Regions from separate parts of the Homo sapiens genome. Here region 1 is linked to region 2. Evidence: promoter capture Hi-C in 16 types of primary human blood cells and fetal thymus (Javierre and others, 2016). All regions are on one chromosome and are shown on one strand. The core of a region is centred on a gene start or on the middle of the fragment in contact, and the rest is flanking DNA. Distances in the headings are between cores, read along the strand shown.

Region 1 (4,382 bases), core at 413-2,912, 92 kb before region 2:
GGTGGCAGGGGCCGGTGGGGTGGGGGGTGAACAGCGGCGGGGCAGTTGCAGCCTCAGGACTAGGTTTTCCCTTTCTCCAGACCTGTCTTCCTGGGTGCGACTTCCCTTCAGCCTCAGACAAGGCAGCTGGAGGTCCTGAGAGAAGTGAGCTTTCCAGGGAGAAGTGGAGGGGGTTCCACAGTGACAGCCAGGTCTGGAGCTGAGTGTGTCTGCCGGGTATGAGGCTGGGAGATTTGGGGAAGGGGCTGTGTCTGCCAGCCTGCAACCTTTTCTGAGGTCAGCAGCCTGTTGCCCTTGTCTTGTCTGACCCAGAGCAGGGGAAGTATTCGGTTACTAGTATGGCCTATTTAAACCTTTCTGAGGAAACTCAAATGTTTCCGGAGGGCTTGAAGGAGGCAGGCAGACCCTCACAGCCCCCCTCAATTCACCTCAGTGACCCCTGACTCTCCCCAGCAAAGTTTTAGTTATGCCTCCAACATGAGTCTCATAAATACTTCAACTGAGACAGAAATTTCACTATCGCTGCCTTTGCTGGAAACACAGGGAGGGCCAGAAATGCCAGGCTCTCAGAGAGGGCACATCTCTGAATCCAGCTCCCAACTGCTGTCCATTGATAAAAACAGCTCATCAGCAAGTTGTGTAGCCAACGTTTGTGGGCCATGAGGGAGTGACTCAGAGACTGGTGTGAGGCTAATTATAAAAGTGTGAGAAACAGAAGGAGGTGGGGGCAGATTTGTGGAGAATTCAGGAGGGTGGGCAGGAAAGGTGAGTGGTGGTGTCACCGTGGGTGTGTGCCCACATGCCCCTGCAAATTCAAGTTAAGAGCATCAAGCTTCTTCTAGGAGTGAGTAGTCATTATTCATTCCCCAGTTCAAGGGAGAAGCTTGAGAGTTAATTTGGCCTAATTTGGTGGTTCTTAATCATGTTTGGGTCATGGATTCCTTTGAGAATCTGCTGAAGGTTAGGACTTAAGGAAACTCAGTTTTCTGGTTCTAGCCCTGCCTCTGATGAGCTCCCTGACTTCTGAGAGACAGTGGCCTTACACTATAAGCACCATGTGGCCAGGGCATGTGTCTCTCTTGTACTTTACTGTTTTCCCAGGGTCAGAACAGTGCCTGGCACATAGTAATCAATAAATATTTGATGAATGAATGAATAAAAGCTTCTCATCTGCAAACTGGGGTTTACCATCATTTTGTATTACTTAATTTAAATAGCACCAAAGTGGTTAAGGAGTTCAGAAAACTAGAGAGAAAAGAACCTCTGGTTTTCTTTTGAACTCTTTGCCTTGGAGAGCACCCTGGCACAACATAGATATCTCTTAGGTAAGCTTTTTGCAGACTGTACCAATCAGGGCAACAGCAGGATAAAGAAGCAACTCAGGTGGTTCAGATGAAAAGATCTGAATGAAGGGATCACTTTGAGAGGTGTGGGCGGGGTTAAGGGAACCAACAAGGAATGCTGAGGCACCTAGAGATTAGCAACTGCAATATGCCTTTACCACCCTGTGCTTGAAAAGGCAAGAGGGGCAAATAGGAAAATGGATCCCAGGCAGATTTGGAGCCTTAGAGAAGGGGCCATTAAGCAAGAGCATTGGTCATGGAAGGCCCTAAAGCAGGGAGAAAGTGAAGGAGAAGTACACCATCTTCTCTCTCCTCCCATCCAAGCACCTTTTGGCAGCGCCTCTCATTGGCCAACCCAACTTGAAGCCAGAGGGCAGAGCCTGGAGGTCAGGGACTGGAACACTGAGGGCAGAGAGCCAAGGGGAGGGTTGGGATGGAGAACAACCAGTGCGCACATCCACAGGCACTTCTGGCTGGGAATGTGGTCATTAGACATTAGGGAAAACAATGGAATAGACCTAGCGGGAATCACTAAGGTAACCAGCTCAGTATCACAAAGATATGTTTTCTCCGGTGGTCACTTGGCTTTGCCCCCCTAATTTAGTCACCATGGCTTTATGATAGCACAGTTCAGAAATAAACTTAAGCTTTAAAAAAATGGAAGCTGTTCCTTGTAATCCTTTGGAAATATTTTCCAACAGTTTGATATAAAATATTCTATATTCAGAAGCTTATAGACTCTTAATTCTTCTGAAGATAGGCTGTGTATACACAGAAAATAAGGGCAACCAGGAAAATCTTTTCATTCTATGCATTATAACTTAGTGAGTGCCTACTGTGTGCCTGGCACTCTAATGTGTGCTTCAAGGGACACGGAGACAAGTAGGATGTGGCCTCTGCTCTGAGGGATTCCATGATCACCTGCTTTTGAAACACAGGTGGCGTGTGGTAAATGCCCCGGAAAGGGGTTGTGATGGAGGAAGAGCTCTCATGGGCCTGTAAGCCAGTACTTACCTTCATAGATAATCCACTCCTTCACTGTCTTCAAGAAAGACTATTCCAGCAGTGCCATGTGCAGCACCAGCTATCTGGATCAGAGGTTCATTACCTGGCAACCTCCTCTGCTGGGTCCCAGAGGAGAACCAGGAAGGAGCAAAAAACATCAGAGGCCAGAACTGATGATAGAAATGCCATCGCTAAAGCACATAATATTTGATACACACAAAACTATTTCAGGCCTTTATTCTAAGCCTATTAACTCTTACTTTGGGCACCACTCTAATAGACATAGATAGTCCGTGACTTGAAAGCTGGTGATTATATATAGCATATTAAATTGGGGAGGGAGGAGTTGCTGCTTAAGCTAGACACAATGACGGATGATAAGAATGATTACAAGAAAAACAATAAAGAATTAGGAAATGGGCCTGAGATTTCAAAAAGAATAGTAGGCCAGGCGCGGTGGCTCACGCCTGTAATCCCAGCACTTTGGGAGGCTGAGGTGGGTGGATCACCTGAGGTCAGGAGTTCGAGACCAGCCTGACCAACATGGAGAAAACCCTGTCTCTACTAAAAATACAAATTTATCTGGATGTGGTGGTGCATGCCTGTAATCCCAGCTACTCAGGAGGCTGAGGCGGGAGAATTGCTTGAACCTGGGAGGCGGAGGTAGCAGTGAGCTGAGATCGCGCCATTGCACTCCAACCTGGGTAACAAGAGTGAAACTTCGTTTAAAAAAACAAACAAAACATAGTAGACTAGAGCTACCTCTAGAGCCTCTGCTCTGTCTGTAACCCCTGAAGGCGTCATTGACTACAGTACATTAACTGGTTTTCATTATGATGAACATGAATGGACCAGTGATGACTGGATTGTGCCTACTTTATCTTGCTTAAGAAGGTAGATAAATGCCATTTATATATTAGAATGATTTCTATTGAACATGGCAATTATTAAAAATGCCAAGATTCCCACGTTTGGTGTATTGCGTTAACCATTGGTGGGTAATAAACCACCGTGACACTTGGTAGATCAAAACAACAACCATTTATTGTTGAAGTTCATGTGTTTGTGGGTAAACTGAGGGTCAGCTAATCTAGCTTGGGTTTGGCTGGCCCTGGCTGGACTCACTTATGGGTCTGTGGATTGACTTGGCTCCAGTATCCACCCACAGTGGTAGCTCAGTAGTAGTACAATTTCCAGAATGTGGAGGCACAGACACAAAGACAATGATATTTACCGGAGGGCAGGCCTTCCACACAGTTTAATTTGTGTAATTCTCGCAGCACTCCTGAATGGGGGCAGCACCACTTCCCCTTTCAGATGAGGAAATGGCAGCTCAGAAAGGTTAAGTGACTTGCCCAAGGTCATGCAGCTGTTATGTGGGAGAGCTGGAGACTGAAATCCTGCTTCTTTAAGTCCAGGGCTTTCACCAGTATATACCAAATCTCCTTATGGTTTTGGATAAATAGTGATATTGGCCTTTAAAGTCCTGTAGGCTACCCTCCTATCCTCTGGAAACTCTCCTCTGGATTCTTTTTTGTTTGTTTTTTCGAGACAGGGTCTCGCTCTGTTGCCCAGGCTGGAGTGCAGTGGTGCGATCTCGGCTCACTGCAACCCTCCGCCTTCCAGGTTCAAGCGATTGTCATACCTCTGCCTCTTGAGTAGCTAGGAGTACAGGCACGTGCCACCAAGCCTGACAAATTTTTGTATTTTTAGTAGAGATGGGGTTTTGCCATGTTGGCCAGGCTGGTCTCGAACTCCTGACCTCAAGTGATCCGCTGGCCTTGACCTCCCAAAGTGCTGGGATTACAGCCACCACGCCTGGCCTGGATTCTTTATTTTCCATTCCCTCCTGCTTTTTCCTCAGTATATCAATGCCCAAAGCTCTAGCAAAAGATTGAATATTGCTTTATATTAAAGTGTGCATGACTTGCCAGGGTACTGATTTATCTCTGCTTTGATGGTTCTTGCATTTTAATGGAGGTTAAGGATCTAAGCTAAACAATACTCTAGTGAAATGGTGTCAACCAGGGTGTT
Region 2 (4,396 bases), core at 426-2,925:
AGTTCCACAGCTTTAACAAAGACACTTCGTAGATGTTCATAGCAGACAACTGAACTGTATCTCCGCAAGTTATCCTGCTCGTGTTTCTAAACTGCAGTTAGAATACAACATAATAGCCATCTTAATTCACATTCACACCTGCCTCAAACTGCAGGACAGGTGCACACATGAACTATATGATTTAAATTCCACATTGCCCTTCACCAAAAGAAAACATCAACTTAGTAAACTCTTCAGGAAATGATGTTCTTATCTTATTCCCATCTCTTCTCTCTGAAAGAGCTGGATCTGCTGTCAGTAGGAAGCATAGCAATGGCATGGCAAGTGACTACACAAAGATGGGATTTCATTATCTAAAACGCCCTCTTCACATGTGTTGAGTCACATCTATTAGGTCCTCTGACAAAAACAAGTCTTAACAACAGCGTTAGCACCACGGAAACCAGAAGTTCATGAATCACGGAGGGATGCTCTGTCAGCCAATTCCTAACTGCCAAACCTTCACCCAGGACATAGGGTGGAAGTGCACTCTCTCAACAGCGTCTATAATTATGTAGAAAAAGGTCCGGCATAATGACTATTTGGACATTCCTTACGCCTGCTCTCTTCTGCTTCCAAACGTAGACCAATCTTTAACCTATCCCAGGCTCACGAACTCTGATTTGACTCTTTACCCACAAGGAACTTGGTCTGGAGGAAAAGCCCGGGTGGTATAGGTGACCTCAAAAGACATCCAAGTCAAATGAAGCACAGAAAGGAGATGGAAGAAGACTCTGATGAGGCGCAGAGAGGATGCCAATTCTTTGGCTGTAGAGGGGACAAAGCACAGTATTTGGGAGTCCAGGACCAAGTCGGAGGAGAAAAGCAGGGAAGAGAATGGGTTCTAAGGCAGTGGATGAGGCTCATAACAAACAAGAAGCGTCTTTTAAATGTGGAGAACCCTGATGGGAGCATCGGAAAGGAGGGGAGGGGTTTCGAGGGAGAAGTGGACCCGGATAAGAGGGGGGAGGTTTGCCTTGGGGGAGGGAGGTTTGCCTTAGGGGCGAGGTTGGGGGCGGGGAGGGATGGAAATGGAAAGAGGCCAAAGACCTTTGGAACTAGTGTTTGAGACTGTGAGGTAGAAGAATAGTAGGGAGTGACGAAGATTTGGGAGAAATAATCTGGGTAAAAGAAGGGACAAATCGATGTCCCAAAGGATTTGGGGTTCGAGAGAAAGTAACTGACGCTGGCAGGGGGTTCCCTGGAATCTGAAGGGCCGAGGGAAGAAAGGAAGGAGTCAAGGTTGATATGTGGCGGCTGGAGCGGCCGAAGGGAACCGTGGGGAGCGCTGACTTACAACGAATAGTGTGGAAGGAGGCCCGCGGCCGCTTCTCGAAGCTCTCCCCGAGCCTCAGGCAATGTTCCTCGCGGTCCAGCAGCGGGTTTGCGGTCCCATTCATGGCCCCGCACCTGCCTCGCACCCAGATCGGCGCTCTCCCGGTGCAGCCGCGATCCGAGCTTCTGGCGCTGGCGTCTGGGAGGACTGTGCTTCCGGGCCACCGCTCTGGAAGACAAGGAGAGCCGAGCCGGCACCCACCCGGGTCCAGAAGCAAGTTCTCTCCTCTGCGTGGGGGTGAGAGAGGAATCTGAGGAGGCAAGGCCGTGGGACTTCCGGCGTCGGGTAGGAACTTCCGGGTTCCTAGCGGAAGTGGCGGGGGCGGTGCCATGGCAAAAGAACTCCCGGATAATCCGAATTCGTGGTCCTCAGAATTGGTTTAGGGTTGTTTCGCGGTTCTTCCCGTATTCTGCCTCCGAGGCCCAGTGGGGCTGGCTGTGGGGTGAGTGCGCCTGGCCCTAGCCCTGCAGGTGAATTTAGGAACTGATGACGGTGAGCCCTGAGCGTGGCTGACTAAATTAACGCGGGTCGGCTAGCCATCATGGACGCCCTCCTCAGGGTCTAGGGGCCCATGCAGCCTAGTCTATCCTGAGGGTCCTGAGATGGATCCTCGGGACCTCAGCCACGCGTCATTGGGTCTCTTTCTCCACTTTGCCCGGTGATGGCGGTGCGAGGGTCTCAGTCCCTGCAAAGTGACGCTCCCTCTGGTTCCTATGACAGCCTCTTGTGAGTGTGATCAGGAAATGAGCCCACCCAGGCTTAGCTTCATTTCCCCCGAAAAAACGGAGGTCCGACCCTTGGGAAACGATGACCTCACTTGTATCTGACAATTGACCACCCGCTTCCAGCTAAGGCCATTGTGGTTTTTAAGTCACCCCTTTCGCGGGCACCGAAAATTGAGGAATATTTTCTTCGCAAGGTTTCCCAGTCAGTTCTTGAGAGCGTCCTTTTTCGTAAACTAAATCGATTTATTGTAATAGTTGACTCATCTGGTTTGAATAAAAGTATGGTGCATGAGATAGTCTGGCCACTGAAATGAATGTAAGCCCACTGAAGGTAGGGACTGTGTGTTTGTCTTCTTTGTGACCTCTCATATAGCGGGAAGGATTTTTTTTTGTACAGTCTGCATCTCATAAACATTTGGTGAATTGAACCTGGCGTCTTGAACTGTAACCACTAACCAGAATCTAATTCTTTTCTCTGCGAAGCCCCCTGTGCTGTTTGAGGCGTGAAACTCACCTCAGGAAATGTATCTGATCCATTAGCGTGGATTCATATTATTTGGTGATGGAGAATCTTCAGCTGTGTTAAGTGTTACCGTCAGTTTCAGAGATGGCTTCTTTGCAAAGGAAAGGGCTGCAGGCAAGGATTCTCACCTCTGAAGAAGAGGAGAAACTGAAAAGAGACCAAACTTTGGTGTCTGATTTTAAACAGCAGAAATTGGAACAAGAGGCTCAGAAAAATTGGGATCTTTTTTACAAAAGAAATAGCACTAATTTCTTCAAAGACAGACACTGGACCACCAGAGAGTTTGAGGAGCTAAGATCATGTAGAGAGGTAAGCTAATATTACGCCTTATCTGAGCTGTTCTTCATTTAAAATGTGAAGAGGGTGCCATGGCTCATGCCTGTAATCCCAGTACTTGGGGAGGCCAAGGCAGGCGGATCACGAAGTCAAGAGATCGAGACCATCCTGGCCAACATGATGAAACCCCGTCTTTACTAAAAATACAAAAATTAGCTGGGTGTGGTGGTGCTCGCCTGTAGTCCCAGCTACTTGGAAGGCTGAGGCAGGAGAATCGCTTGAACCCGGGAGGCGGAGATAGCAGTGAGCCGAGATTGTGCCACTGCACTCCAGCCTGGTGACAGAACGAGACTCTGTCTCAAAAGAAAAAAAAATGTGAAGAGGTGTGCTGTATTGCATTCCTAGGGAGAGTGCGAAGTAGAGAATTTAAGAAGCCTATCAAAATGCTTTGCGTTTTAGGAGAGAAATATACTGTTTGGTCTTAACACCAAAGTTTTAGCAGTTTCTGGTTTGGTTAACATATAGGAGAGAGAACTTTAGTGGGTGTTTTCTATTTCTTTAAGCTGATCTGATAGTTGTAAACATTATATATTAAATTCAAGAGCCAGGTCTGGTGGCTATTGCCAGCTACTCCAGAGGCTGAGGCAGGCGGCTTGTGCCTGTGAATAGTCAACATGAATTAGCCAAGCCTAGGCAGCATAGTGAGACCCTATGTTCTGAATTTTAAAATTTTAAACATTAAAAATTTTAAAAACAAAAATATAAATTCATGCTAAGTGACTTCAGTGACAGATTCAGAATAATATAATAGTTAATGTTAGTAACTATTTACCATGGCTGTTTTCTACATGGCCTATCATTTGACCCTTATACCGGCTCTGTGAAGTGTAAGTATTAGTATTGTACTCATTTGTCCCCAAGGTAAAATTGAGGCACAGAGCTGTTTAAGTGATTTACCCAAGGATAGAATGCAGGGGAGGAGTTGAGATTTGGGTGCTGGCAGTTTAACTCCAGAGCCGAGTTAGCCATTGTGCTGTTTTTTTCCTCCACACCAAATTGTTAATGTTGGATGACAAATGAAGTACCAGTATTAGCTTTTGCTTATTAGTTCTCTTGTTGATCGTCTGCTCCATGGGGTCGGAGACCTCTCATATTCTGGACCTTTTAGTTTGGTTTATTTCTTCATTATGCAAATGTGATATACTATAACTTTGAGCTGTCTTTCCCCAGTTTGAAGATCAAAAGTTAACAATGCTTGAAGCTGGCTGTGGGGTTGGAAACTGTTTATTCCCACTTTTAGAAGAAGATCCGAATATCTTTGCCTATGCCTGTGATTTTTCTCCAAGAGCCATTGAATATGTTAAGGTTGGTGCACCATCTATGTATTCTGCTGTGTTTCTGTTTTCTTGCCGATCTTGTTTGATCTGCCTTTTTTATTCATTTGCCCAATTCTAGTCTTCCCTGGAGCTAACCAGCTATAGTCACCATACATGTAGT

What was found. The method cuts DNA at HindIII sites, captures the fragments that hold promoters and counts their contacts. A CHiCAGO score of 5 or more calls a contact.
Region 1: a contact is called between a fragment that was not itself captured here and the fragment with the promoter of METTL6 in region 2, in 1 of 17 cell types (M0 macrophages). The highest score is 5.2, in M0 macrophages.

What each region holds. Positions count from the first base shown.
Region 1 is chr3:15,516,657-15,521,038 of GRCh38, reverse strand. The region is part of intron 1 of COLQ (collagen like tail subunit of asymmetric acetylcholinesterase); the gene reads left to right. Among named protein-coding and RNA genes, the nearest start is that of COLQ, 2.9 kb to the left of the region's middle. The HindIII fragment of the contact is 660 bases long and covers 1,333-1,992 here.
Region 2 is chr3:15,424,823-15,429,218 of GRCh38, reverse strand. METTL6 (methyltransferase 6, tRNA N3-cytidine) reads left to right here and starts at 1,675. Exons shown (of 6, transcript NM_152396.4): 1 at 1,675-1,817; 2 at 2,584-2,932; 3 at 4,130-4,264. The coding sequence starts at 2,708. It overlaps EAF1 (ELL associated factor 1), which reads right to left and starts at 1,621. Exons shown (of 6, transcript NM_033083.7): 1 at 1,337-1,621. The coding sequence starts at 1,439. RefSeq lists an enhancer at 1,265-1,544 and a silencer at 1,541-1,704. The HindIII fragment of the contact is 9,714 bases long and covers 1-4,396 here.